Linked DNA regions of Homo sapiens: all the other regions are linked to region 6. The links are contacts of gene promoters, found by promoter capture Hi-C in blood cells and fetal thymus (Javierre and others, 2016). All regions are on one chromosome and are shown on one strand. Each heading gives the region's core, a stretch centred on a gene start or on the middle of the fragment in contact. The rest is flanking DNA. Distances are from core to core; before and after follow the strand shown. Region 1 has its middle 2.2 kb from the start of HIPK3. Region 2 overlaps ARL14EP-DT (ARL14EP divergent transcript). Region 3 holds the start of CSTF3 (cleavage stimulation factor subunit 3). Region 4 overlaps EIF3M (eukaryotic translation initiation factor 3 subunit M). Region 5 overlaps ARL14EP (ARF like GTPase 14 effector protein). Region 6 holds the start of IMMP1L (inner mitochondrial membrane peptidase subunit 1). Region 7 overlaps QSER1 (glutamine and serine rich 1).

Region 1 (4,144 bases), core at 777-3,276, 1.7 Mb after region 6:
GGCTGGAGTGCAGTGGTGTGATCTCGGCTCACTGCAACCTCTGCCTCCCAGATTCAAGCTATTCTCATGCCTCGGCCTCCCGAGTAGCTGGGATTACAGGTGTGTGCCACCACATCCAGCTAATTTTTGTATTTTTAGTAGAGACGGGGTTTCACCATGTTGGCTAGGTTGATCTCGAACTCCTGACCTCAGGTGGTCCACTCGCTTTGGCCTTACAAAGTGCTGCGATTACAGGCATGAGCCACCACGCCTGGCCTGGGCAGAGTAATTTTTGGAGGTAGAGGTGGGAGGAATAGCTGAGAGAGAGGGCTTGGATTTCATGGCTAGGTGATCTCAAACAATTGTGACTGCTCGCAGTCTGAGTTTATGGAGGGTTTCTTACTGATTCCATAGAAAATTTATTTTTTCACTTTACAAATATTTGAGTTCCCTTTACATGCAAGGCCCTGTTCTAGGCTCTGGGGATCAAAGCATCAAGAAAACAGACAAAAATTCTTGCCCTGTGAAAGCTTACCTTGAGGGACAAGGGAACAGAAAATATATATCATAGTATCTAAGATGATGGCAAGCCCTAAAGAGAAAGATAAAGACAGGGAATGTAAATATAGGTGGTCATCGCTGAAGAGGAGGCTTCACCATGAAGGCAATATTTGAGTAAGGACAGGAAAGAAAGGTGGATGGCTATACTTGAGGAATGTTTCAGGCAGAAGGTGATCCAGGCACCTACGGAGCTCCAGAGAGTGGCTGGAGTAAGGAGACAAAAAGTTGATTGAGTTCCTTGTGGGCTAGTTCTGTGAAGGATTTTATTTGTTTATTTACTTACTTACTTACTCAGAGACAGGGTCTTACTCTGTCGCCCAGGCTGGAGTGCAGTGGTGTGATCACAACTCACTGCAGCCTCAGGGCCCATCTCAGCCTCCCGAGTAGCTGGGACTACAGGCGTGCACCACCAGGCCAGGCTAGTTTTTGTATTTTTTGTAGAGAGAGAGGGGTTTTTGAAGAGGCTAGGTCTTGCTCAGTGATAGAATTACAGGTGTGAGCCACCAAGTCTGGCCCTTAAGTAATTTTTTTGAATGAAAACATTAAGGTTTTCTTTAGTATCTTCCTGTTTTATTTTTTAGAGGCAAGATCTTGCTCTGTCACTTAGCCTGGAGTGCAGTGGCGAAATCACAGCTCACTGCAGCCTGGAACTCATGGGCTCAAGCAATCCCCCAACCTCAGCTTCCCAAAGTGCTGGGATTACAGATGTGAGCTACCATGCCCTCCCCCAGCCTGCATTTTTGAGAGATCTTAGCACTATGAGAAATTTTCCTTAAAAAAAAAAAACAACCCTCAAACTTTGTAAAATAGCTACATTAGGGGCTTTGGGAGATTATCTAGATGTTTGTGTTCAGAATAGATTTGAAAGCCAGGCGCAGTGGCTCACACCTGAAATCCCAGCACTTTTGGGAGGCTGAGGTGGGCGGATCACTTGAGGCCAGGAGTTCCAGACCAGTCTGGCCAACATAATGAAACCGCATCTCCATACTAAAAATAAAAAAAAAATAGCTGGCTGTGGTGGTGCGTGTCTGTAATCCCAGTTAGGTGGGAGGCTGAGGTGGATGGATCCCTTGAGCCCAGGGAGTTGAGGCTGTGGTGAATGGAGATCACACCACTGTGCTCCAGCCTGGGTGACAAAATTAGACTCTGTCAGGTCAGGAGATCAAGACCATCCTGGCTAACATGGTGAAACCCCATCTCTACTACAAATACAAAAAATTAGCTGGGCGTGGTGGCACGGGCCTGTAGTCCCAGCTACTTGGGAGGCTGAGGCAGGAGAATCGCCTGAACCTGGGAGGCGGAAGTTGCAGTCCCAGCTACTTGGGAGGCTGAGGCAGGAGAATCGCCTGAACCTGGGAGGCAGAGGAGCTGATATCGTGCCTCAAAAAAAGAAAGATTTGAAGGGGAAGAGATTAGAGGTAAAGAAATTAGGTTAGGAGACAATAGGTATAAAGTGAAGGGGGGCTGGAATATATCATTTACTTATTTTGCAACATTTACTAAGGTCTTACCACAAGTCAGGCACTGTATTAGGCACTTGCAATATAATGGTTAAAAAAAAAGATGAGGCCGGGCGTGGTGGCTCATGCCTGTAATCCCAACACTTTGGGAGGCTGAGGTGGACAGAGCACGAGGTCAAGGGATCGAGACCATCCTGGCCAACATGGTAAAACCCCGTCTCTGCTAAAAGTACAAAAATTAGCTGGGTATGGTGGGGCATGCCTGTAGTCTCAGCTATTCGGGAGGCTGAAGCAGGAGAATTGCTTGAACCCTGGCAATAGAGCGAGACTTCATCTAAAAAAAAAAAAAGATGAATGAATCCCCTCCTGGAATATATAGTGTAGTGAGTAGCAACATGCAGGAGATAGAAAGGAAAATAAATCCTTGTCTCTCATTTCCATCTCTTCATGGATGTAGCAAATACAGGGAATGGAAGCCTTCCATTAGAGATGGCCTCCTTAAATGTCTGCAAAAATTCTGAAATTTGAAGTTCTAGTGGAATAGTTTCTCTGTTCCTCCTGACAGATTTTTCTACTATTGTAGCTTTCTCCGTTGAGTAAATGATTTTATCCTCTTTGATTCTTTTGACTATTGTTCTTAAGAAAAATAAAAAGTAACGAAATACTAAGTGAAAAGGAATGGTTCATAGGCTATCTCTCTGAAAGGCAGCCATTGTTTTGTTCTTCTATATTGGAAGCCTTTTCAGCTGGTTATCCTCTCTAACCTGAAAACAACTGTCATTCGAAAGTGTTATTTCCAGTGGCCTCAGGGCATACTATCCTTTCTCTTTTATTTTATTTTTTGAGACAGAGTCTCTCCCTGTCGCCCAGGTTGGAGTGCAGTGGCTCAAGCGATTCAAGCGATTCTCTTACCTCAGCTCTCGAGTAGCTGGGATTACAGGCGCCCGCCACCACGCCCAGCTAATTTTTGCATTTTTAGTAGAGACCAGGTTTCACTATGTTGGCCAGGCTGGTCTTGAACTCCTGACCACAGGTGATCCACCCGCCTCAGCCTCCCAAAGTGCTGGGATTACATGTGCGAGCCACCGCGCCCGGCCTCCTTTGTCTCTTAAAGGCATTATCCAAAATACTCATCTTCCGGTTTGAAGAGCAGCAGGGATTAAATGTGTATTATGTATGCAGCAATTTGCCACTCCCTTTGCCCTGCCCCAGTTACTGCAATAGAAAATTTCTGGGAATAAATACATCTCTGGTAAATTCAATCTTGCTAGTGAAGATTATGAAGGAAACAAAGAAAGGACACTTCCATTCCAGAAAGGTGTTTGTTTCCCAAAAGGTTAGACATTGATTCAGAACAAAGGGAACCTGAGGAAACGGGTATAAAAGAAAATCAACTCTGAATGTGAGGTATTAGAAAGCCATTTGTTTCCTAGGGAAAAGGAGGAAAGATGGGGTGGGAGACATGGGCTTTACTGTATAACCTTGGTCATGTCACCTAAACTTCTTGGAACTCCTGAGTGTAAGAGTTGGGACCAAGGATCGCAAAGCTTCTTTCATTCCTAAAATTCTATGGTTCCACGATTATGTAAGCTGAAACAGGCCATTCTGTTGATTTCCTAATCTCCAGGAGGAAAGAAACTAGTCTTTGGGAGTTAAACCGACTAATTTAACGGAGAATTACCAATGTGGAGGTGGGCGAACTTCACAATTATGGGGTTTTGGACAGTAGAGATGCTCTTAAAATTTCCAAGAGGACCCTTCCCCCGTCCTTGAACCTGGCTTTACAATTCTCTTCACTCTTTGGGATAGGGGAGCGGGTAGAACCTAGTTTAGATTGAGGTCGTTCATTTGAGCATTTCCCCTTTACTTATTTTGGGACCTTTAACGACCAAATGCCGAGAAACAGATCCTTAATTACGGTTCCGGGATCTCGAAAGGCCTGTAAAATCCTGCTTCCGCATCTTCATCCTTTCTTCGGGTATTGGGATCTTTTTTAAAAATGTGTATTTCTGGCGGAGGGGGCATGGAGTGAGGTTCAGAACAGCAGAGCCGGGCTGACGGATGCTTCTTTCGCGGGAGGCTTGGCTTGCGGGACTCCGGGTTGGGGCCGCACGGGCTGGCAGGCGGGCTCCGGGCAACAAGGG
Region 2 (4,043 bases), core at 1,443-3,942, 1.2 Mb before region 6:
TTCTTCAACAAAGTATGTCTTCACATCTTTAGCCAAGTTTGTTTTAAATTGTGTCATGTCTTACCATTATTGAATTATAAGAGTTCTTGATATATTTTAGAAACAAGTTCTTTATCAGACATACGTCTACAAGTATTTTATCAGACTGTGTTGCTTTTCTTTTCATTTCCATTGGTGTCTTTTGAAGAGTGAGAGTTTTTCATTTTCATGAAATCCAATTTATCATTTTTTTATTTTATGGTTCCTGTTTTTTTGGTTGTATCTAAGAAAAATTTTGTCTAACCCAAAACTACAATGAATATCTCACATACTTGCTTCTAGACCTTTTTTTATAGTTTAGATATATTTGGATATGTGATCTATTTTGTATTAATTTTTGTATGTGGTATGACATAAAAATCATTGTTTACTTTTTTGCATCTGGATATTCAACTGTTTCAGTACCACTTTGTCTTAGTCCATTTAGGCTGCTATAATAAAGTACCATAAACTGGTGGCTTATAAACAAAAGATATTTATATCTCACAGTTCTTGAGACTATAAAGTTTAAGATCAAGGAGCTGGCAGATTTGGTGTGTATTCTCACATGGTGGAAGGAAGAACTCTGACCTCTTCAGCCCCTTATAAGGGCATTAGTTCCGTTCATCAGGACTCTATATCTGTGACCTAATTACCTCCCAAAGGTACCATTTCCTAATACCATCACATTGGGGATTAGGTTTCAACATATAAATTTGGTGAGGAAACACACATTCAGTTTGTAGAGTACTTACTGACTCATTAACTATATTGGGCAAGTTATTAGGTGGCAATTTCATATGGTTCAAACTAGCATTTGGTCTCTTTAATCTTCTTTTTCCCCCATATGAAAAACAGGAAGAGCTGTGGTACATATTACACAGGTGATTGTTGTGAAATTTAAATAAGATAATGCATGCAAAGCACTCCGTCCCCTGCAGAGCACATAAGTGCTCAGTAAAGGAGGATATGTTATAAAACTCATCAAGTCCTGACTATTGCAAAATATATCTTGAATTTATCTCCTCCACCTTATCACTATTTACTCATTCACTCATTTATTCACTTAACAACTTTTTATTGAATCACCATGTGTTCTGGGTACTAAGATAGGCATTGGGAATTCAATGGTAAACAAACTAGACATGGCCTGTGCTCCAGTGGGACTTTCAGAATGCAAGAGAAGACAGACTGTTAAATAGCAATTAAAATGCAAATAATAAAAAGTCATAACTCTGGGCTTTGCTCTGGCTAGTGAAATAATACATTTTCTATGTCCCATCTTCTTCCCCCAGGTTCCTGGGTAAGGGAACATAGGATAAGCCCAGAGATAAGAGAGAACTATTGAAGAAACTCCTGCCAGTGTGATCTATCTAAACCACATATCTGACCAAGTCACTCACTGTCTAAACCAGTGTAAGGCTCTTCACTGCCTTCAGGGTAGAGTTAAACTCTTTAAAATGACATATCTCTCACCAAAGCTCTTAGCACTCTTTCTCTCTCATTTTGTTTCAAAAAAACTAAACTATTTATATTTCTCTATACATGCCATGCTTTTTTATGTCTCTGTGGCTTTGCTCATGCAGTCCATGAAATGTCCTTCACCCTTCCTCTGCCTTGGTAACTCTTCATACCAGCTGGGATTCTCATGGCTGCAGAAGAAAGCAAGCCAGTTCAAACCAACTGGAGGCAAAAAGAGAAATTTACTGTAAGGATACTGGGATGCTTCCTGAAACAGAGAGCAAGGACGTGATTGTATATCTATTGTAGGTAACAACAGAATGCATTCTCTGGAAGACGCATTCTCTTCAGTTTGTCTCTGCTTCTCCCTGTGCATGTCAATGTGACTCACATTGTGGTTATTATTGGTTTTCCTCTATCAAATGGCAGAAAACATAGCAATTGACAGTTCTCAAGCTTCAGTGAGTCCCATGTGGAAAAATCCTAGGGAGGGACATTGATTGCCTCAGCATGTTTCATGTACTCACTCATGGCCCAAACATTTGGGGCCCAGGGATGCAGTGTGATGATGTACAGAATAGCTGCTCTCACCATAACCATGTGGATGGGGGAGGGAATAACCCAGAAAATTTTTGGAAAAAATTACAAAAACATTATAGATATTTTTGAGATTCCTTGAAAAAATGTCATTTGCATAAATGAATTAATATAAATTAAGCATAAATAAGGAATCTCAGCTCAGATGACCCTCCTCCAGGAACCACTCCAGATTCCCTTTATTGGTTTGGGTGCCTGTGTTCTATGCCCACTTACTGCCTCATGAATATGTCTAACACTACTGTTAACATTTTTGATCATCTGTTTCTGTGTCTGTCTCTTACGAATTCTTAGAGGACAAGTATGTAGTATATTCAGTTTTGTACCTCAAAATTTGAAGATACAGAAAACAAAGCAATAGTGAATGTGGAAATGTATTGAAGATTTTTGGAAGAATGAGTAGGTGATTACTTCAACTAACTGGCACTTGAATTTTATTTCTAAAACTCTCATTATAAAAAGTCATCATTTTCAACTTTCTTTTGAGTCAATGTACATTTGCCCTCTTACATAGCAACATCAAGTCATTAATGAGATAATCCCAAACCTTGTTATTACATCGTAACTTTCTCTTAGCAGTAATTATTGGAGGTGAGAGAATCTATATTAATTGACTTGATTATATATAATATTTAAAATCACCTAATTGACACAATTATTATAGAGAAAAACATGTGAAAGCCACATAAATAAACTCCGACTATGCTTAAGAACTGTCTAACCCAGCTCATTTGATAGCCTATTGACCAGTGAGTTAAACAAAACTCTAATTCAATGATAGCAGCATCCTCTGCCCTTTCCAAAAGTGCAGGACAGGATAATATTATCTCATGGTCAAGAAATGTATTAAATATGTGGAAAAATAAAATGTAAAAGAGCATGAGGAGAAACTTAGTGAAAATTAGCAAAACAATGTTCTGTTCTCCCTCTGCTGGCTTTTAGGCAGTATTGCTCTTCAAAGATCTGTCCAAAGGCCCATATGAAATTTTTTCAAGGAATCTCAAAAATATCTATAATGTTTTGTAATTTTTTCCAAAAATATTTAGAATGCTCATAATGTTCATCTAAATAAGCTCCACCAAAGCTAGAGCATCCCCACCAAAGCCATCATTACCTTCTCTTCTTATCACAGATAATGACTAATACAAAATAGATAGAACAAGTAGAATCTAGTGGCTTGACCAATTTTCCAAAAGAGCAATTCAAAAGAAGTAATTGATATTAATATTATAAATAGATATTATGTTTTCTAGTTTTCTAAGAATATGATTCTTACAGATTGAGATGCAGCCTGATTGAGTAGGAAAAACACTGCATTTTTAGAAAGACAACCTGGGTGTGAGTCTTGACTATCCCTATTACTTACTGGTTGTACAAGCTTTACAGATTGTCATTTATATGTTAGTTGTATAACATTACCATTTACGGAACTAAGTCTCATCAACCTCTAAATGAGGAAGCTATGCAACAGAATTGTTAAATCCTTTTCCAGTTCTAGTTTTTTTGTTCCCAGTGCTGTTGAATTATTAATTTTTAATAATTAATTTCTGCATTTAATTCACACCATTTTGGTCATTCGAAGATGTAACCAAAATGGTTCCTGTAACCATCAGCTTCCTTCCTTGACGTTGTGCCAAACACACTGTGGACACCCAGATGAATCCTAATTGACACAATAATGATTGTGATGGCAATAAAGAGCCCTGGGGTTTTTATTTGAGCCAAATTCTTTCCTAGTTATATGGCTAGTATTTTGAATAGCAGCTGTGAACAAATCTGTATTTCCTTCCCCTACGCCACCCCCACAACAGTCTGAAATCTTTACTTTAAATGAGACAAATCAGAAGAACTGCTGAAAAACACAGTTTCAATCTGTCCTTCTGCCCAGTCATTAGTTAAATCCCCTATATCACATTTCTTTAAATCAACTGACTCTTAAATATTGTTATAAGGAAAGCAAGGCCAAG
Region 3 (4,266 bases), core at 1,152-3,651, 1.7 Mb after region 6:
TACAAAAATTAGCGGGGCATGGTGGTGGGCGCCTGTAATCCCAGCTACTGGGGTGGCTGAGGCAGGAGAATCGCTTGAACCGGGAGGCGGAGGCTGCAGTAAGGCGAAATCGCGCCACTGCACTCCAGTCTGGGCGACAGAGCAAGGCTCCATCTCAAAAAAAAAAAAAAAAAAAAAAAAAAAATTAGCTGGGCATGGTGGCGCGCGCCTGTACTCCCAGCTACGGAGGAGGCTGAGGTGGCAGGATCACAGAGCGCAGGGAGGTCGAAGCTATGGTGAGCTGTGATGGCGTCACAGCACTCTAGTGTGAGTGACAAAGACTCTGTTCTCAATCTATCAGCATGGGGAGATAAAGCAAATATGGCAAGGCTTTCAGCTGTTGATTCCAGGCGAAGAGTTGTCCTACAGGTGTTCACTGCACTTTTCTTTCAACTTTTCTCTATGTTCTAAACTTTGCACAATAAAACCTTTGGGAGAAATTATTTTTCTATAAATTTTCACCACCATCTGTCCCACTGAAACACCACAGTTCTAAAACATTCAAGAGGTCATGGTAACATTTCCGTGTCTTTGTAATTTTAGATAAATTCTAAGAATTAACAATGAATTTCGAAAACTTTCAATGAAACCTCAGTTCATTAGTCCTTCACTTTCAGATAACAAATACTAGATCAGAAAAGGGGTAAACAGTTTTGATACAGTAATTTTAAGACTTTGCATGCTTGGGCATGCTAACACTATGTAAAATGTAAATAGTGCGAAGATTTCTGGACTGAAACCAGTCCTCGGGCAAACACAAAACAATTTAATCAAACTGCCGACATAATGAAATCTACAGTCTTACAGACTATGCAATAGAACGCTCCTATTTTGCCTCATCTCTGCCAACCTCCAATAACATCTTCCACGTTATAAGCTAGGGAACCTGAAAAACGAAAACCTAAGTGCATGTCGTTGCTATGGCAATGGGAAATTTCAGGAAATTGAGACTGCAGGCTACCTAGCCTCCATTTTAGAAACTGTATTTATCTAAACACACCAGGACTTAGATCGAAAAACACATTTAATGGCATTTTTCATAACTATTTAGCTTCCTCTTTCACACTAAAAGGTAAATACTATCCTACAAAATTCTGAATACAAAGAGCAAAAGAAACAAATCACACTGATCTAACCTAAAAGTGTGAATTTTAAAATATTTAGTTGTCACTCATATTTACTATTAAAACAGATGCTTTTATTTACAGTGGCCAAAACAGACTTCTCATTTTCAACTTATACCTGCAATGTTTATGTAGCTGGAAAAATGAAAACGAAATGTGGCTAAAAGAAAAGAAAACGAAAGAAAGCCACAAAATTCCCAAAACCTCAGCATAACTTGCTTCTTTCTTCACTCGCTCTCATTAAGTCTTAATTCTCCAGATTAGCTTTGTCTCAAATATTTCTCAAACTAGTAACCTATTTCTGGGTACAGTATATTTGGCGGGGTAAAAGAAACACTGTCAAGTTTTTCTAAAACGTCGGGTGCACGTTAAAATAATTCCTATCCACTCTAATACCAAAACGATATCAAAGGAAAGCATCCCATCTGGAGTAGTCCCATGAATCTAAATAGGACGAAGCAGCCTACCGCTATTGTCTAAATCAAGTATTTACTCGTATTCATGCCTAAGAGAGAGAAGTAAAAAAAAAAAAATTAAATCTTAGATCTTGCTCCCCATTCCCACCACTCTTCTATATACCCTGTCCCCCGGGTTCACTAGACCCAATTCCTTCCTCAGCCGAACATGTCTGGAGCAGTCGGAGGAACAGACGTGGAGAAGAGGTCGCCACGAGGCCCCACCACTCTCCTTCCTCACCTGCTCCGTGGCTCCGTCTCCTGACATGGCCTCAGCTGATTACAACGTGCGCACTGACCGTCGATGGGAAGCTAGAAAAGAAAAATTAAACTAAAAACCACCCCCAAATCAGTAAAGTTACCCCCTGCCCAGCTGAGCCAGACCGCCAACACCAATCGCCACCGCCCACTCAAATATGAATTAAAATGGCTGCGCCCCTGCCGGCCGAGGAGGAGGTGTGTGGCTTCCGCATTAACTTCCGGGGCAGTGGGCGGGGCTAATTTCGCGACTCTGGTTATTCCGAGCGTGCAGAAAGCAGCGAGATCCCGGGGCGGGCCCAATTCCTGGGCTGACGTCACTACCCTGGCTTGGAGAGGCTGTTGCTGAGCCGGCTCCAACCGGCTGGAAGGCGGGAAGCTGTTTCGCCTGGAGGCTCGCGCGCTTTTTGGAATTCAGTTATCAAGCTTTAGAGCCTGGCTACTCACAGTTGAAGCCTGATTGCAGGTCAGCAATGCTAAACGTTAAATGCCTCTTATATTTAGGGGATAAGGACTCCGTGGAGGTTTTCTCTGGTCCCAGCTCCTGCTTTTTACTTTTCTTGGGGGTGGGAGGGATAGATCAAGCCCCCATTAATTTTTACTGCCACCGTCGACTCTTGTGTAGAAAGCTTTGAAGTCTGAGACCTGGGTTTTCAGCTCAACATCTCAGCTTGGTTCCTTGACTGCAAAGTAGGTATAATTGTTTGTAGCCCAGACTGCTTGGATTTTAACGAAGATAAGTAACTCTGGTAATTAAACTTCGTACCTCAGCTTTCTGGCCTATAGATGGGAATAATAATAGTACCTGCAAGTGAAATAAATTATACATAGAAAAGTGTTAGAACAGTACCTGGCATTAAGATTAAATGAGATTGACTGGGCGCGGTGGCCCACGCCTGTAATCCCAGCAGTTTGGGAGGCCAAAACGGATGGATCATTTAAAGTCAGGAGTTCTAGGCCAGGTGCGGTGGCTCACGCCTGTAATCGCAGCACTTTGGGAGGCTGAGGCGGGCGGATCACAAGGTCAGGAGATGAGACCATCCTGGCTAATACGGTAAAACCCCGTCTCTACTAAAAATACACACACACACAAAAAAAAATTAGCCGGGCGTGGTGGCGGGCGCCTGTAGTCCCAGCTACTCCGGATGCTGAGGCAGGAGACTGGCGTGAACCTGGGAGGCGGAGCTTGCAGTGAGCCGAGATCGCGCCACTGCACTCCAGCCTGGGCGGCAGAGCGAGACTCCGTCTCAGAAAATAAATAAATAAAGTCAGGAATTCAGGACCAACCTGGCCAACTTGGTGAAATCTCGTCTCTACCAAAAATACAAAAAAAGTAGCCGGGCGTGGTGGTTTGCGCCTGTAGTCCCAGTTACTCGGGAAGCTTAAGCAGGAGAATCGCTTGAACCCGCGAGGCGGAGGTTGCAGTGAGCCGAGATTCCAGCCTGGACTACAGAGCGAGACTCCGTCTCAAAAAAAATAAAAAATAAAAAATTAAATGATACTAAATCTTCTCAAACTGCTCTTCCATTTAAGCGTCATCGTTAGATGTCTGCAAGCATTTCTCGCCTACGGGGGTCCAATGCCCTAAAATAACCTAGTGAACTGTTCCCAGACTCGCCTTATTCTTTTAGGTCTCCTTTCCTCTGCTCAAACTTACACTTACTCCCTTTCCACAGGCTGAAATCTTACCCTTAAAATAATCAGACACATGAGCAAAAGATATGTATTAACAGATGTTCATTGCACCATCCAGCAATGGAGGACTGGTTAAAAATATCACAAGATTTATCTCTGCAATGGAATATCACACAGCAAACTGATGCTAATGTACGATGACTGACAGAAAGGCAACCACCGTATTAAATGAAGAAAAGCAGAATATGAAAGTGTTTTACGTATATATACTTACCACTTTAGCATCCTAATCTGAAAATCCAAAATCTGAAATACTCCAATGAGCATTTCCTTTGAGAGTCATGTCAGTGCTTAAAAAGTTAGATTTTGGAGCGTTTTGAGTTTTGGAACATTTAGGTTTTTTTTTTTTTTTCTCTTGAGGCAGAGTCTTGCTCTGTCGCCCAGGCCGGAGTGCAGTGGTGCGATCTCGGCTCACTGCACCCTACACCTCCCAGGTTCAAGCGATTCTCCTGCCTCAGCCTCCTGAGTAGCTGGGATTACAGGCGTGCGCCACCACGCCCGGCTAATTTTTGTATTTTTTCTTTTTCTTTTTTTTTTTTTGAGACGGAGTCTCGCTCTGTCGCCCAGGCTGGAGTGCAGTGGCACAATCTCGGCTCACTGCAAGCTCCCAAGCTCCGCCTCCTGGGTTCACTCCACTCTCCTGCCTCAGCCTCCCAAGTACCTGGGACTACAGGCGCCTGCCACCGCCCTGGCTA
Region 4 (3,817 bases), core at 820-3,319, 1.1 Mb after region 6:
ATTAGTAATGAATAAATGTTTCCATAAAATTAGATTTTTTATAACTTTAAAATTGAAATATGACACAGTACACTGTGACTTCCTCTTTGATGGTAGTATTTTAGTTTTATGAAACAAAGCACAGCTTCCTACAAAGTCTTTAACTCATACTTCACTGCCTTAGTAGTTTGATTTTTCAGAACAAGAGTCCTAAGGGTTTTAAGTTTGGTTCTTTGTTACTTTAAACATCAATTTAAAGTGTTTTTAGATGCAAGTTTTCACATGTAAAATAGATAACGGTTTTATGGAATTCAGCCTAGAAATAATCTTCATTCCTCTGATAAGTTTTTTCATTTATGGTAAGATTGTAACTGCAGAAAAGATAAGCAGTAAAATAGATTTAATTTCAGGAGTATTTAAAATAATAGAAATTTCAGAAGTTTCTATCACTTTATATTGAAAGAGAGTTGTCTGTCCATGCCAATAGAACTGAGAATGTTAAGGAATTTTTGAAAAAAATCTTTAATACTTATTCATTGATAAGAAAAAATTCGTTAACATTGCTAATTTATTGTGCCAGCTAGAATTCAAATTCCTTCATTTGCCTTACGTTTCTTGAACATCTATGCAAATCAGTATTCTATTAGAAATTTGTTTATATGCTTTTCAGAAAACATCTTTATATTAATGTGTATATTTTTTATTTTAATTCTATAATTAAACATTTATTACAGCTGAAAGCCTAGTGACAACTATCTAGATTCCACAAGTTGCAATCAGTTTGTCAGAACATTTTCCTTTATTAACACTGACAACTTAGGCCAACAGTAGCATTATCTTGTGTCAACTGAATTGCCCTAACATGTCCACATGTAATCTGGTGTTATCCAGTTGCTACCTTTTGCTTCAGAAAGTTAATCGGCATCTAATTTGCATTGTTAATTAGGGTTAATGTGCACTAATTGATTTCTTGGCGCCTGTAGATTTCCATTAAACCCAGTTAGCAATACTTCCTTGTATACCTCATTCATTTGAGTTATGGTGATCATGTTTTTGTTGAATCTGTGCCAAATAGGAAGCCTGTATCATAATTACAGCTAATTAACAGATGATCATGTCCTATGTTAATGGGCTTCCCTAATCTTCCACTAATATATGAATGTTATAAATTTAAAATTTATTTATGGAGTGTTTAGAGAGTGAACTTTTTAAACAATACAGACTTGAAGCTCTGAATTTATTACAGGGCACTTGATTGATCATTTGCTGATTTTACATAGTTCAAAAGTTCAGAGAAAAGGAACATGTAAATCTAGATTAGTTTTAGAAACTTAGTTTTATAATTAATAAGTTAGCATCAAAACAAGTATATATGATATTATGTTAGAATTCTGCTCCTACTTAGGACTAGGTTATATATTTAGGATTCCTAATTTTTAAAATTTCTAGCCCTTTATTTTAGAAATGAACCTATTCTAGGCCTAGCACTGCTATTTTTTGACTATAAGTCCCCATTTAATCTCTTTGCTCCTCAGTTTTGTTTTTAAAGTGAAAGGATCAGGACTGGGTAATTCCTTAAGTTTTCTTCTAGGCCTAACACATTGTTGTTATTTGAATAATTACAACAGCATGTTTCATTAGAAATTATAATGCAAAATTTGAATTATTTGTGCAATTTTCTACTTTTGTCTTATAAAGAACAAGTATCACTTTTAATGGTATTCTTTAATTATATCTAGTACTAACTGTATTGGCCTATAAATGTTAAATGACACACACACTTTGACAGTTTTGGTTTGTAAGTAGTTTTGATTTTTAAATAGTGACCTGAAGCAAAATGGAATGTTTTCATAACTGAAAATGTTTGTGAAAGTATTTTAAAACTTCAGGTTTACCAGTAATAGTAACACAGAAAAAACTAATAAGTAGATAAGAAATCCTCTGTGTTTAAATGAAGAGCTATTAGTGTGAAAAATAAGCTTAGGTAATTTAACTAAATAGAAATTGTTCTTATGAAATGTACTTTGTAGATTTTATCTCCTAAAATGTATAACTATTTAAAAATGTAAAATGTGCAAAACTTTTAGGGTCTAAAAATAATCATTTTATGGCCGATTCTTAACTTTGAATCTATCACCTATGGTACTATAGAAAAATTGTTTTTAATACTCTGTGGAGTCAGTTTATAGTTTGCAAATATAAGAAGCTTTGTCAAAATTGTTCTATATAAGTGCTCAAACAATAATTTCCACAATTACAAAAGTAAAAATAATTTCCACAGCTTAACATGAGATGTAATTGTGCAGGTCTTTAATTAGTATGAACACTCATCAGGCTTCACTATTCTGTTTTCTAGGCCTGTTACATGAACAGAATATGGCAAAAATGAGACTACTTACTTTTATGGGAATGGCAGTAGAAAATAAGGAAATTTCTTTTGACACAATGCAGCAAGAACTTCAGATTGGAGCTGATGATGTTGAAGCATTTGTTATTGACGGTAAGGCAGACAGAACATTTTCATTTATTTCTAGAATTTCTCATCTACTACATGGATCATAGTAAGATTTTTATCTGGAAACTGAGCCTTACACAACAAAGATTTGTTTATAGCAGATGTGTATTTAGTAGATTAGTGGATATATTTGTTGTAGGGTGAAAATTTAGTAGAAATATAAACTGCTATATTCTATCCCTTGAAATCACGTAGAACAAAGACGTTTAGGCAATACACCACTGTGGTTAAGAGCACAGATTTTAGTATTAGATGTGGATTTAAGACCAGGCCCTTCCTTTGTGAAACAGGAATGTAGGGGTTCATTTGTGGTTGTAAGAATTAAATGAATTAATACAGGTAAAGCACAGTGCCTGGCACATAGTAAGTGATCTTTCAAGTGTTAACCATTACCAGTTTTTTTATGATTAGCCTAGAAACAAGAACTTCTTCCCCAACAATTAGATTATAAAGCAACTTAACTGCTCAGGAATTTTTTCTGAGCTTTTTAAATTTGAAAGTTGGGATTATGCAATTAAGATTAATAAAAGGTACAGAACTATTGACCTTTTTTCCCCTAATGCTCTAAGTTTTCTATGAAGAAGTAATAACTTAGTAGGAAATTAGTTTATTCCCCTATATGAGATGGTAGGGGAAGAACACCTAGCATTCTTTAAAAAAAAAAAAAAAAAAAAAACAGCAAAAAACTGTATGCAGTATTTATTTAATATAGATTGTCCCAGCAGCCATAGGACAAATGCATGACCTTTCTTTTGGTTGCCCCATACTGTTTTGCTTATTAGATTTAAACAGTGTATAATGTTGGAAAACAGTATAAAGTTTTATTATGGCTTACTTGGTCACAGTTTTCATACCTTAGCTATTTTTCTTGGAAATTTTCCATATAACATACGATATAAAACATCTTTTTTCAGCCGTAAGAACTAAAATGGTCTACTGCAAAATTGATCAGACCCAGAGAAAAGTAGTTGTCAGGTAAGATATTTAATGCTTTGCAGCATTTTATAGAACGATTTAGTTTGTTCCGATTATTTCACTTAAATGTTTAGAGAACCAAGGTGGTGTTATCACTTGACTGTAGTTAAATAGTTGCTATTTATCATAATTTTATTAAAGTTCAGACTGAATGTGATTAGCTTATTTAATGAAAGAGTCCTATTTTCCAGCACATTTCATTTAATGGCTGAGCATTGGCTAGAATACTAATGACTTTTATGTCTGCTTTATATAGTTGCTCAGGAGAATTAGAAGGCTTAGGATCAATATGGTAAAGATTTTTTTTAAATAATTATGTAATTCTTAAATTCTCTTACTATTCTAAAT
Region 5 (4,212 bases), core at 903-3,402, 1.2 Mb before region 6:
TGTTGTGACCCATTTAACATACACAAGAAATTAGCCAAAAAAAATTTGCATGTAATTGACTTAGATGATGCCACTTTTCTGAGTGCTAAATTTGGAAGACAGCTTGTACCTGGTTGGAAGCTTTGTCCAAAATGCACACAGATAATCAATGGAAGTGTGGATGTTGATACTGAAGACCGCCAGAAAAGGAAACCTGAGTCAGATGTATGTGTAATAGTCATTTTTTTCTACATTGTGAATTCTACCATGTAGGATTTTGCTTAACTATAAGAAAATCATATTTACATTATTACTAAATTTGTTAGCATACAGTGAATTAAAAGGAGGGGTGAAAGTGGATGATGTTTCTAAATATTATTCACATATACTGAAGGTCAAGATTGGGGGATAAAGAAAGTAGGCCTGGGAAAGTAATAATAAAATATGCCTAAGACTCCAAGCTACAACTTTTAGTGCGAAGACTTTAGGAGTGGGTTTTAGAATATTCTGGCCAAGCCAGGATTTAGTTTCTTTTCTGATACCAAAGTAACTACACGGGACATGGCAACCACCAAGGGTCTTTGCAGCAGGATGACTTCGCCTTTATATGAAGGACTTGGAAATCACTGCTTTAAAAGGAACATTAGAGAGGTGACTTACAGTAATTGTTTTTTATTTCACTCTTTTTTTCTCCTTTGACACTGTCTCGTTCTTGAGTTTTTTAAATGCTTGTGAATTTTCTTTGCTTCTAGTTCTGAATTCCTACTTGATATGGTCAAGGCTAATTTTAGGACTCCTTGAGGTAAAAAAAAAATAATACATTTTTACATTGTAAAGTATTAAATATTTTACCTCTATTCCTATTGACATGCCTACATGCATATTTAACCATATCAGAACAACTTAAGTTTTCATAAAGCTATCTTTTGTGTAGGACAAGTATATCAAAGAAGCACATCTCAGAATTTTTACTTGTAATTATTTCATAATTCTTACTGCTGGAATATTTTTCTCAGTTTTCTCCTTTTTATTAAACCAAGTTAAAAGATAGTTGAAATTTGAAATTATACTATTTTCCTGTTGTTGTCTTCTCAGAGGAACATCTTGAGGGCCCAGTTTATCTGTAGTTCATACTAGATACTTGCTGATAGTGTCATTGTAGATGTCTTCACCTTATCTATCCAATGTTCTTGTAGAATATATCAGCTGCAGCTCTTTCCTCCCCAAATAACAAACATAAACCCTTAAACACCGAAATTTTGTTTCACCAAAACTTTTCAAAAAGATTATAATACTATTCTAGAACTTGAAATCATATTCTCTGCTCTTAAAAATATATAAAATACAATAATAAGGACCCAGGATTGTTAGGAAATCAGTTATGTGCCACTGGATTATATAGCAGTTTTTGTGCCTTCTCTCCTGTGTTGGCAGCAGCCATTGCAGTTTTCACAATGCCTTCCTCCTCTGCTCCTAATATACCAGAGACTAAAATAAAATAATGGAAATGTTACTAATACATTAACCAATATGCTTTGAATATGGTCTAGGGCCATGTAAATTTTCTTGCACTTAGGCTCTAAAACCTTGTTTTCTTTTTTGTGTGTTCCAGACTGTCTTCCATGTTAGGGAATCGTCTGGTTTAACATTAAATAAAATGTTAATCTGTTGTCTGTTGTCAAGATTTGAGTTGATAATTTGTTTACCTTTCTTCAGGGAAGAACTGCTAAAGCTTTGAGGTCATTACAATTTACGAATCCAGGAAGGCAAACTGAATTTGCTCCAGAAACTGGTAAAAGAGAAAAAAGAAGGCTTACAAAAAATGCAACCGCTGGTTCAGACAGGTAGGCTAAGTGTTACTGAAGACATGTTAACTTGCTGCTTCACATCTGCATTGTTCCCCTATTTTTCTCTTAAATTTTGAATTTTCTGGGTTCATATTTTAAATTGGATAATGTAGAATTAGTAAAAACCTATGAAGGCCTTTGTTTTTATTCATATAAAATTAAGGTATCCCTTTCAACTACAAAAATTTGTTTCTAAGAAGGTAGCAGTGAACTGAAGAAATAATTTTGGCATGAGAGTTAAAATAATTACAATTAAAGTAATTCACTTATTTGAAAAGCATTGTTATTATATATATACGGACATACCTCATTTTATTGGTGCTTCACTTTATTCTTTACAAGGTGCTATTTATTTTTACAAATTGAAAATTTGTGGCAACTCGGTGGTAAGCAAGTCTATTGGTGTCATTTTTCTAACAGCATGTACTCCCTATCTCTGTCGCATTTTGGTAATTATTGCAATATTTCCAGCTTTTTCATTACTGTATCTGTTATGATGATCTTTGATGTTACTATTATAATTATTTTGAGTCACTAGGAACCACACTAATGCAAGGTGGTGAACTTAGTCGATAAATGCTGTGGGTGTTCTTACTGCTCCACCTACTGGCTGTTCTCTAGACTCTCTCCCTCTCCTCAGGTGTCCCTATTCCCTGAGAAACAAATATATTGAAATTGGTCCAACTAATAACCCTGCAATGGTCTCTAAGTGTTCAAGTGAAAGGAAGAGTCAAGTTTCTCATTTTACAAAAAAAGCTAGAAATGATTAAGCTTGGGAGTAAGGCACGTCAAAAGCTGAGACAGGCCAAAAGCTGGGCCTCTTGTGCTAAACAGCCAAGTTGTGAATGCAAAGAAAAAGTTCAGGAAGGACATTAAAAGTACCATTCCATTGAACACAAATGATAAGAAAGCAAAACAGCCTTATTGCTAATATGGAGAAACTTTAAATGGTCTGGATAGAAGATCAAACCAGCTACAACACATTCCCTTAAGCAAAAGCCTAATCCAAAGCAAGGTTCTAACCCTCTTCAATTCTCTGAAGGATGAGAGAAGTGAGGAAGCTTCAGAAGAAAAGTTTGAAGCTAGCAGAGGTTGGTTTATGAGGGTAAGGAAAGAAGCCATCTCCATAACATAAAAGTGCAAGGTGAAGCAGCAAGTTATTAATGAAGGTAGCTACACTACCCAACAGATTTTCAATGTAGACCAGCCTTCTTTTTTTTTTTTTTTTTTTTTTTTTGAGATGGAGTCTTGCTCTGTCACCCAGCCTGAGGTGCAGTGGCGCAAACTCAGCTCACTACACCCGCCACCTGCTGCGTTCAAGCGATTCTTCTGCCTCAACCTCTTGGGTAGCTGGGACTACAGGCACGTGCCACCACAGCCAGCTAATTTTTTGTATTTTTAGTAGAGACGGGTTTCACCATGTTAGCCAGGATGGTCTCGATCTCCTGCCCTCGTGATCTGCCCACCTTGGCCTCCCAAAGTGCTGGGATTACAGGTGTGAGCCACCACGCCCAGCCAACAAACAGCCTTCTAATGGAAGAAGATGCCGTCTTTCATAGCTAGAGAGGGGAAGTCTATACCTGGCTTCAAATCTTCAAAGGACAGGCCGTTTCTCTTGGTAGGGACGAATGCAGCTGGTGACTTTTAAGTTGAAGCCAATTATTTACCTCTTCGAAATCCTAGGGTCCTAATGATGCTAAATGTACTCTACCTGTCCTGTATAAATGGGACAAAGCCTGAATGGCAGCATATCTGTTTACAGCATTGTTCATTGAATATTTTAAGCCCACTTGAGAGACCTCCTGCCTAGATAAAAGGATTCCTTTCAAAATATTGCTACTCATTGACAATGTACCTGATCACTCAGGAGCTCTGATAGAGATGTCCCAGGAGATAAATGTTTCATGCCTCCTAACACAACATTCATTCTGTAGCCCACGGATCAAGGAGTACTTTGACTTTCAAGTCTGTTATTTAAGAAATACGTTTTGTGAGGCCAGAGCTGCCATAGACAGTGAGTGATTCCTCTGATGGATTTGGGCAAAGTAAATTGAACACCTTCTGGAAAGGATTCACCATTCCAAGAGTTTGGAAGAAGATTCGAGTCCTCATGGATGACTTTGAGGGGTTCAGGACTTCAGTGGAGGAAGTAGTTGCAGACGTGGTGGAAATAGCAAGAGAACTAGAATTAGAAGCAGAGCCTGGAGATGTGACTGAGTTATTGCAATCTTGTGATAAAACTTGAATGGATAAGGAGTTTCTTCTTAGAGATGAGCAAAGAATGTGATTTATTAAGGTGGAATCTACTGGTGAGGATGCTGTTAACATTACTGAAATGACAAAGGACTTAGATTATATAAACTTAGTAGATAAAGCAGAGGCAGAA
Region 6 (3,953 bases), core at 1,288-3,787:
CTGGCTAACACGGTGAAACCCCATCTCTACTAAAAATACAAAAAATCAGCAGGGCGTGGTGACGGGCGCCTGTAGTCCCAGCTACTCGGGAGGCTGAGGCAGGAGAATGGTGTGAACCCAGGAAGGCACAGCTTGCAGTGAGCCGAGATCGCGCCACTGCACTCCAGCCCGGGGAACACACCTAGACTCCGTCTCAGAAAAAAAAAACAAAAGCATATTTATCCTACGATAGTGTTATACCAGATATATATCCTAATTTCATGAATACTCTGGTGTGTATATAGATCATCTTTCCAGAATTATAGTCCAAGTCAAAGTTGGAAAATAATTCTTCAGTTCTAGTAATGAGGCAAACAAAGCACCACTATCATCATCTTGGGAAATCTAAAGGGTTAAGTAAATACAGTAGGAAACAAGGGAATATGTAATACAGAAGCCTATAAAAACGAATTATACCATTATGTTAAGTGAAATAAGTCAGACACAGAAAGACAAATATCACATGATCTTACTCATAGGTGGAATCTAATAGTTCATCGCACAGAGAGTACAATGGTGTTTACCAGAGGCCAGGATGGTTGGCAGGGGGGATGGGGAGAATTTGGTCAAAGATACATAATATCAGTTAGATAGGAGGAATAAATTTCAAGAAATCTATTATATAACATGAATTTATAGCAAGCTGACTATAGTTAATAATCATATATTGTATTCTTTAAAAAAATGTAAACAGTGTAGATGTTATGTACTCTTACCACAAAAATGATAACTATGTGAGGTAATGCATTGCTAATTAGCTAGATTTAACGATTCCGGAATGTACATACACTTCATAGCATCATGAGGTACACAAAACAATGCCATCTGTCAAAAAATAATAATTATATGTAGCATTTCAAAAAGTTCACAGCATCAAAAATATTTGTAGGGGTGGGGGGACAGAGAGCATCAGGAAGAATAGCTAATGGATGCTGGGCTTAATACCGAGGTGGTGGGTTGATCTGTGCAGCAAACCACCACAGCACACGTTTACCTATGTAACAAACCTGCACATGAAGCCCAGAACCTAAAACAAAAGTTGAAGAAAAAAAAAATTCAAGACGTTTCTATCTGATATTGGACTGCTTTGTCACTTTTTCTTTTGGTCTTCCTAGTGCTTATTTACTACAGGATAAAATTAGCACATGCTATTTAATGTGTTCATTTTAAGTACTATGTTGTTTTCTATGTGTTAATTTTATCTCCTCCAGGTGAGACCATTTTTATTACCATAGGTCTAAAATGACAAGATTAAGTCCAAACAGACAGTAATCACTCAACAGCTATTTATTGAGTAACTTAAAGATTCAATATGAAAGCAACCTTGATCAAAGCTTTCCAGTTGATATATTGTGAAACAGGGTTTTTTCCTAAACATGATTCTAAAAAACAAGCAAACAAACAAAAATCCTCCCCAAATGAAAAACTCCAGTCACTATTTAGCAATACTAATTTCAATTTATCAAACAGAATCAGCCCAAAAATTTCAACAGGTCAGTGAGATTTAAAACAATTCGATGGCAAGAATTTCAATGAGGTTTGGCTCTAATTAAAAGGTATCACAGATCACTGTCAAAGTCAATAACTCAGTAGTGCGGTAATGATTTGGGAGTCCTTTTCAATTTAGACATTTGTCAATCATGATTGCCTTTAAACATCAGTTACCCACTGTCCCTGCTCAGTTTTGAAAAAAAAATTAAATACAAAAATACAACTCAAAATACATGTTTTTTCCACACATAAAATTGGTATTTTAGTAATAAACTCTCGATTCAGGGTTCATAAAATAAAGTAGGTATACTTCTAATTCTTCCTAGCAGTTTTTTGGGGGAAAGAAACCCTAAGTATTTTCTGTTATTTGCAGCTGCTTTAACAGCAAACGACAATTAAATGTGTGAACAAGGTTGTCAGAGTAACACTTGTCATTTACACCGCTTAGGAAAGACATCCAAGACTTCCAGAAACACTAATTAAAATTAACAAAAGCTTCTTATCGGAACTTGTCAGAGAGCTATAGTTTGTCAGACACAGGAAAACCAGATAGCCTCAAAGTTCAAGAGTTTTCGCTCTAAGGTTTAATTCCAAACCACCTACCACTAGGCACTAACGAACTAAGCCCAGACGCTCAGCAACCAACTCATTAAGGTAAGAGATCCCATCCTTTCCATATAACACAAAATTAAGAAAAAGACATCGTGGGGAAGGCGGAGTGAATTTTCTATCAGAAATCAGAAGATAAATGAGCAGGAAAAAAGTCTATCCTCACACACAGCGGAGAAAGGTGCTAGCAATTGCTTGATAAGCCCTAAGGGTTTATTGTTTCACCAACCTTTTCTTTAACTCAATGTGAATGAAGGCACTCAAAAGGAGAAGAACGTTACGTGATATTACCTACCTCGGGCCCCAAAGAACCCTGGAGACCCTCAACCAGGACACAGGTGGGCCTTTCTCACCTGGGCCCCGCCGAAGTCGACCGTCCTTTCGTAGGGCGCACTTTTCAGCAATACGCCTTCCGATTGGTTGGCTCGGGACTGACGTCTCAGTCCTATTGGTTACGAGAGCCGCGGTTGGGGCGAGGAGGCGGGAGTTTGGCACTGGTTCTGATAGGACGGGTGTTTGCGTTCCCAGAGTTCCTATTGGGTTAACACTGGAGGCTCTAAGATGGCGGCAGTGGCAACCTGCGGTAGTGTTGCCGCGAGTACTGGGTCTGCAGTGGCGACAGCCAGCAAGAGCAACGTCACCAGTTTCCAGAGGAGGGGTCCTAGAGCCAGCGTGACCAACGACAGCGGCCCTCGACTGGTGTCCATTGCGGGCACGCGACCGTCGGTGCGGAATGGACAGCTGCTGGTATCAACCGGGCTCCCAGCCCTAGACCAGCTCTTAGGTCGGTTCAGAGCGGAGATCTGGGCTCAGCCGAGGGGAAACTTAGGGAGGGGACCTGTCGGGGAAGCCACTTTGACCCCACATCTCTTTCTGACCCCTAAACCTTCGGAGGAGGAGAGAATAGCCTGGTCTGATTGAGATGGAGGGGAATACGGGTTGTGTGGAGACTTCTGAGCGCTGTTAACTAAACATGTTTTAGTGCCCTCGCTCTCTATTTCATTCCCTGCCCTCCAACCCCTTTTCATATTACGGAGGAATTCGTACATGCTTTTTACCCTGAAATGCTTTCTAGTCAAGGGAAGACATTAATTTATGGAGATGGTTTGGCTTTCATTCAGGATACCTCCCTTCTGCTTTCTCCAGGCAGCTCACGGTTTAGACCAGCCTGCAAAAGTTTTTATAATTGTGAGAGACAGACTTCATTAGAAGATGCTGGAAAAAAATGATTTCCCCTCTTTGACCGTCAGACTGCCTGTTCTCTGGTTCTAAATCTTAAAACATTTTGGCTTTAAGAGAGCGAATGTTAAAGGCTTATGTTGACACATAATCCTTATAAAGTATTTTGAGCCTGTCGTTGATATTTAGATAGTGTCTGCGTTAAATCTGTGTATATATTTTTTATTTTTTCTATATACATTTTGCTTCCCAGTATTGATTGCTGCTACATTCCATACGACATCTTTAAATTTAACTCACATTTTAACGAGAAAAGTCTAGTTCTTAGGCTTTCCTTTAAAATCTCTGGAATTTTTTATGAGAAGCCTGCTGAAGAATATGCTTGTTTCATAACTGTTATATTCAAAGGAATGACCAGATTAAGTTGGTAGGACAGATTTGCTGTGTTAATAAAGCTTCTAGATTAATTTCTGAATGCTGTTTCATTAAAACCCCGTCTGTGTTTACATAACTTTTTTCATAGTGTGTGATATGTGTCTGTTAAATCTTGTACACTTTCATAAAATATAACTCATTGCTTGTTCTTGTACTTCGTTTGACATTTCTTTCGGTTATTTTCCCCTCAAAGTAGGCTT
Region 7 (3,961 bases), core at 860-3,359, 1.4 Mb after region 6:
CCTTTGATTTCAGTTATATCAAAAATGGCAAATCTGAAATATGCCTTGTAAGTCTAAATATTCTACACTTCAGAAGCTTATTTATATTTTTATACCATTTTAAAAAGCTTTTTCATAATGCACATATCAGTTGAATGTTTTTGTTCCCCTTTGTGGCAGTTTCTTGTGAAGGTGCAAATGAGTACTAGTTGTGATGATGTAATATGGATACTTATCCATAAAGAATTAGCCTGTCTGTCACCTTGTTTCCTGTAACCTATTCAGAAGCTGACAGATGGTAATGACATTCAGTTGTTGCCGACAGGGATCTAACATCCTACTTTATGCCTTCTTGGTCTTGAAATACATCATTTTCATCAGTTGATGGGAAGGTACATGATAAACAGCTTTTCATGAGTTTGAAACAATACTTTTTTGAATACAACAGCTCTGTTAGTTATTAGGTAGTTTTATTGTACTAACAGTGGAAAAATAGAGTGGGAAACTCCAGCATTATACCTTAAATGGGGCTTATAGAAAGATTTTTGAATATTTCTCAGAGTACTTGCTAGGTACTTGGAAAGTACAGGGATAAGGACTGGCCATATAAATCTTCATTTATTTATGCTAATTTCAGTTCGTTTTAGGAACTAAATGAATGAACATGTCCTTTGCTGAACACCACGCAGTTGGAAATACCTTTTGGGGTGCAGTTTTGGATGTTGTAAATACCTTTGCATAGCTTGGGAAATAAGAAGGTCATCAAGAGTCTGCAGATCCATTGCCGCATTCTGTACTTGATACTTATATCTTGGTCACAACAGGAAGAGGCAGGCTGTTTTATGGTGATAATCGATGTGTTCGTATTTGAATATGCACCAGAAAGTAAGGGAATGGAAATATTTTGTATTTAAATAGGTTTATTTATTTTATTTTATTTTATTTTTTGCGATGGAGTTTCGCTCTTGTTGCCCAGGCTGGAGTGCAACGGCGTGATCTCAGCTCTCTGCACCCTCTGCCTCACGGGTTCAAGCAGTTCTCCTGCCTCAGCCTCCTGAGTAGCTAACCACACCTGGCTAATTTTTGTATTTTTAGTAGAGATGGGGCTTCACCGCATTGGCCAGGCTGGTAATTTTTGTATTTTTAGTAGAGATGGGGTTTCACTACATTGGCCAGGCTGGTCTTGAACTCCTGACCTCAGGTGATCCGCCCATTTTGGCCTCCCAAAGTGCTGGGATTACAGGTGTGAGCCACCGTGCCTGGCCTGTTTTTTGCCTTTCTAACTTGAAATAACTTTTGGCACCAGTTTTTAGAATTCCTAATGCATACTTTTTTTTAGTATGAGGTATAATGAGTATGATAAATACTCCTCTGAAAAACCAAAGTAATGATTAGCTCTTCTAAAACCTGTCAGTTTCTATATGATGGACATTTGTTTGATACATTTCAAATCTAGAGTTTTCCTCAAGGTTTTTGGGAAAAGGCCTTATAGATCATAATTTGTAAGGCGTAAGAACAATCTCAAGTTAATGAAAGGTTATTTCAGACAAACTTCCACTGTTAGAGTTCAGAAAGTTTTTTCCCATGGAAACCGTGTTGTAAGTAATAGTAGCTGTCATTTACATCACTAGCAACTAATTTGTGCTAGCTGTTTTAAGTCACACGTACATTCATTTATCAAAATTCATTTATCATGAATAAATGAATACATACATTCATTTATCAAAATTCATTATAAAAATCCTTTGAGGTAGGCATTCTTTTTACCATCCTTTTATGGATGAGGAAACTGAGGGATAGAGACATGAAGTAATTTATACCTACAGCTACATAGCTAGTAAATAGTGGTGCTGTGATTGAAACCTGGGCATTGCAGATCTGGAGCCTATGTGATAACCAGTGTACTGCACTGCTTTATTGTAAGATAGTGGAATGCTGTAATCCACCTATATGTGAAATGAGTTTCTGTGAGTTGGCCTGGAAACCTAAGCATCATTAATATCCTTATTTAAGTGTTCTTTGTCACCGTTGACCATTACCTAGTTGAAATACATTCCTTTTCACTTCCATAGCACTGTACTTGCCTGGTTTTCCTCCTACTTTTCTGGCCCAACGCTTTTTCCTGTTCTTCACTGGTGTTTACTCCTCTTCTGTCTAATCTCTGCATGTTACTGTTTCCTCAGGGCTTGGGATTGATAAATTTCTTGTTCATTCCTTGCTTTCTCCTGCGGACTCACATCCACGTCCATGCTTTTAAATACTATCTCAGTGGAGATGCCCATATTTGAGCAGACTCTTCTCAGGACCTCAGACTCTTCTGAAAACCTGATCACATAACCAACTACCTCTTTGACCTTTTACTTGAGCTTAATGATATGCTTTCCCCACCCATCACACCTCTGCTTCTCTAGTGAGGCCCATCTCAGTAGTCATACCTCTGTCCACTTAGTTGCCCAGGCCAGATGGTGGGAGTTGTGTGTGCTCAGTCACTAAGACCTACTGTTTTGAATCTAATGTCTTGAAACTGTCTGCTTCTTTTGTATCCACTGCTCCAGCTGGTCCAAGCCACCATTATTTTTCACTTGGACAACTGTGGTAGCTTCCTAACTTAGTCATCTTGGACCTTTTCTTTCCTCTCTTCAATTCATTCTTCTTATACCATCCAGAGTGATTTTTAAAAACACAGATCTACAAGTTTGCTCTTGGTCCTTTGCTTAAAGCCTTTCCATGGCTACTCCTACATATTAGGGTCACATTTTTAAACATCTGTAATATGGTCAGGCGTGATATCTCACGCCTGTAATCCCAGCACTTTGGGAGGCTGAGGTGGGAGTATTGCTTGAGCCCAAGAGTTTGAGACCAGCCTACGCAACGTGGTGAAACCCTATCTCTACAAAAAATAAATAGAAAAAATTAGCCGTGCATGGTGGCGTGCGCCTGTGGTCCCAGCTACTCTGGAGGCTGGGGTGGGAGGATGGCTTGAGCCTGGGAGGTGGAGGTTGCCGTGAGCTGTGATGGTGCCACTGCACTTCAGTGTGAGCGACAGAGTGAGAACCTGTCACACACACACACACACACACACACACACACACACACACACACACACATTGTAATGTGCTCTGTATGGCTCTGCGTTTACTGACCAATTTTTTTTAATTTATTTTCTTTTTTATTTTTTCTTGAGACAGGGTCTAACTCTGCTGCCTAGGGTGGAGTACAGTGGTATGAACACAGCTTACTGCAGCCTCGACCTCCTGGGCTCAGGTGATCCTCCCAAGTAGCTGGGACTACAGGCATGTGCCACCACACCTGGCTAATTTTTAAATTTTTTGTAGAGATGAGGTCTTGCTATGTTGACCAGGCTGGTCGGGAACTCTTGGCCTCAAGCAGTCTTCCTGCCTTGGCCTCTCAGGCGTGAGCCACCATGCCTCGCACTGGCCTGTATTAAATTCTTTGAATCATCCTAAATTCCTTCTTACCTTAAGGTTTTCATACATCGTCTTACCTTCACTTAGATAACTCTCACCCTATCCCCACCTCCCAGACTGACTTGTTAAGGTATCTCATGTGAGAAACCTGCAGTATTTTCAACCCTCACTCCTTGTTGCTTTGTGCAATGGTATATGTTTTCACAGAATATTTTATTTTACTTTCATATTCTTAGAAATATATACCTATGTATTGTTTATGTAATACGTATCTTCTTCAGAATGGAGGTTATTTGAAGAACCCCTATGTGTTTTGCTGTTATATTTGTAGTACTTAGTATTTACTTTAATCCATGGCATATAGTTGGTGCTTAATACATACTTATATCATGAAAGCCAGAACTCTGCTTCAGTGTGGGAATTGGAAGCCCCTTTCTTCCTGTTGCAGCCTCTAATGCCATTCCCCCTCTACCCTGTAGTTGGGACCAAGATGAAGGGTAAGTTTGTGATTATCTTTGGTTAGCAGGGTGGGGATATGGGCTACTACTTGTTTC

The links. The method cuts DNA at HindIII sites, captures the fragments that hold promoters and counts their contacts. A CHiCAGO score of 5 or more calls a contact.
Region 1: a fragment that was not itself captured here is called in contact with the fragment with the promoter of IMMP1L in region 6 in 2 of 17 cell types (total B cells and activated CD4 T cells); the score reaches 6.6 in total B cells.
Region 2: a contact is called between a fragment that was not itself captured here and the fragment with the promoter of IMMP1L in region 6, in 3 of 17 cell types (naive B cells, total B cells and monocytes). The highest score is 8.0, in naive B cells.
Region 3: a contact is called between a fragment that was not itself captured here and the fragment with the promoter of IMMP1L in region 6, in 6 of 17 cell types (fetal thymus, activated CD4 T cells, total CD8 T cells and 3 more). The highest score is 12.2, in fetal thymus.
Region 4: a contact is called between a fragment that was not itself captured here and the fragment with the promoter of IMMP1L in region 6, in 1 of 17 cell types (naive CD4 T cells). The highest score is 5.5, in naive CD4 T cells.
Region 5: a fragment that was not itself captured here is called in contact with the fragment with the promoter of IMMP1L in region 6 in 2 of 17 cell types (total B cells and naive B cells); the score reaches 5.4 in total B cells.
Region 7: a fragment that was not itself captured here is called in contact with the fragment with the promoter of IMMP1L in region 6 in 1 of 17 cell types (fetal thymus); the score reaches 8.0 in fetal thymus.

The regions. Positions count from the first base shown.
Region 1 is chr11:33,253,062-33,257,205 of GRCh38, forward strand. It overlaps a transcript of HIPK3 not described here. Among named protein-coding and RNA genes, the nearest start is that of HIPK3, 2.2 kb to the right of the region's middle. RefSeq lists a silencer at 4,075-4,144. The HindIII fragment of the contact is 3,038 bases long and covers 508-3,545 here.
Region 2 is chr11:30,311,818-30,315,860 of GRCh38, forward strand. All of the region lies in intron 1 of ARL14EP-DT (ARL14EP divergent transcript), which reads right to left. Among named protein-coding and RNA genes, the nearest start is that of ARL14EP-DT, 9.1 kb to the right of the region's middle. The HindIII fragment of the contact is 1,519 bases long and covers 1,934-3,452 here.
Region 3 is chr11:33,159,440-33,163,705 of GRCh38, forward strand. It overlaps CSTF3 (cleavage stimulation factor subunit 3), which reads right to left and starts at 2,041. Exons shown (of 21, transcript NM_001326.3): 1 at 1,860-2,041. The coding sequence starts at 1,886. CSTF3-DT (CSTF3 divergent transcript) reads left to right here and starts at 2,218. Exons shown (of 4, transcript NR_034027.1): 1 at 2,218-2,342. RefSeq lists enhancers at 403-1,270, 2,006-2,425. The HindIII fragment of the contact is 203 bases long and covers 2,301-2,503 here.
Region 4 is chr11:32,598,354-32,602,170 of GRCh38, forward strand. EIF3M (eukaryotic translation initiation factor 3 subunit M) reads left to right here. Exons shown (of 11, transcript NM_006360.6): 9 at 2,336-2,479; 10 at 3,409-3,469. Among named protein-coding and RNA genes, the nearest start is that of EIF3M, 16 kb to the left of the region's middle. The HindIII fragment of the contact is 227 bases long and covers 1,957-2,183 here.
Region 5 is chr11:30,331,171-30,335,382 of GRCh38, forward strand. It overlaps ARL14EP (ARF like GTPase 14 effector protein), which reads left to right. Exons shown (of 4, transcript NM_152316.3): 2 at 1-204; 3 at 1,696-1,823. Among named protein-coding and RNA genes, the nearest start is that of ARL14EP, 10 kb to the left of the region's middle. The HindIII fragment of the contact is 886 bases long and covers 1,710-2,595 here.
Region 6 is chr11:31,507,085-31,511,037 of GRCh38, forward strand. IMMP1L (inner mitochondrial membrane peptidase subunit 1) reads right to left here and starts at 2,538. Exons shown (of 6, transcript NM_001304274.2): 1 at 2,435-2,538. ELP4 (elongator acetyltransferase complex subunit 4) reads left to right here and starts at 2,683. Exons shown (of 10, transcript NM_019040.5): 1 at 2,683-2,923. The coding sequence starts at 2,701. RefSeq lists enhancers at 2,676-3,565, 2,698-2,987. The HindIII fragment of the contact is 1,748 bases long and covers 2,024-3,771 here.
Region 7 is chr11:32,895,445-32,899,405 of GRCh38, forward strand. The region is part of intron 1 of QSER1 (glutamine and serine rich 1); the gene reads left to right. Among named protein-coding and RNA genes, the nearest start is that of QSER1, 4.6 kb to the left of the region's middle. The HindIII fragment of the contact is 4,008 bases long and covers 106-3,961 here.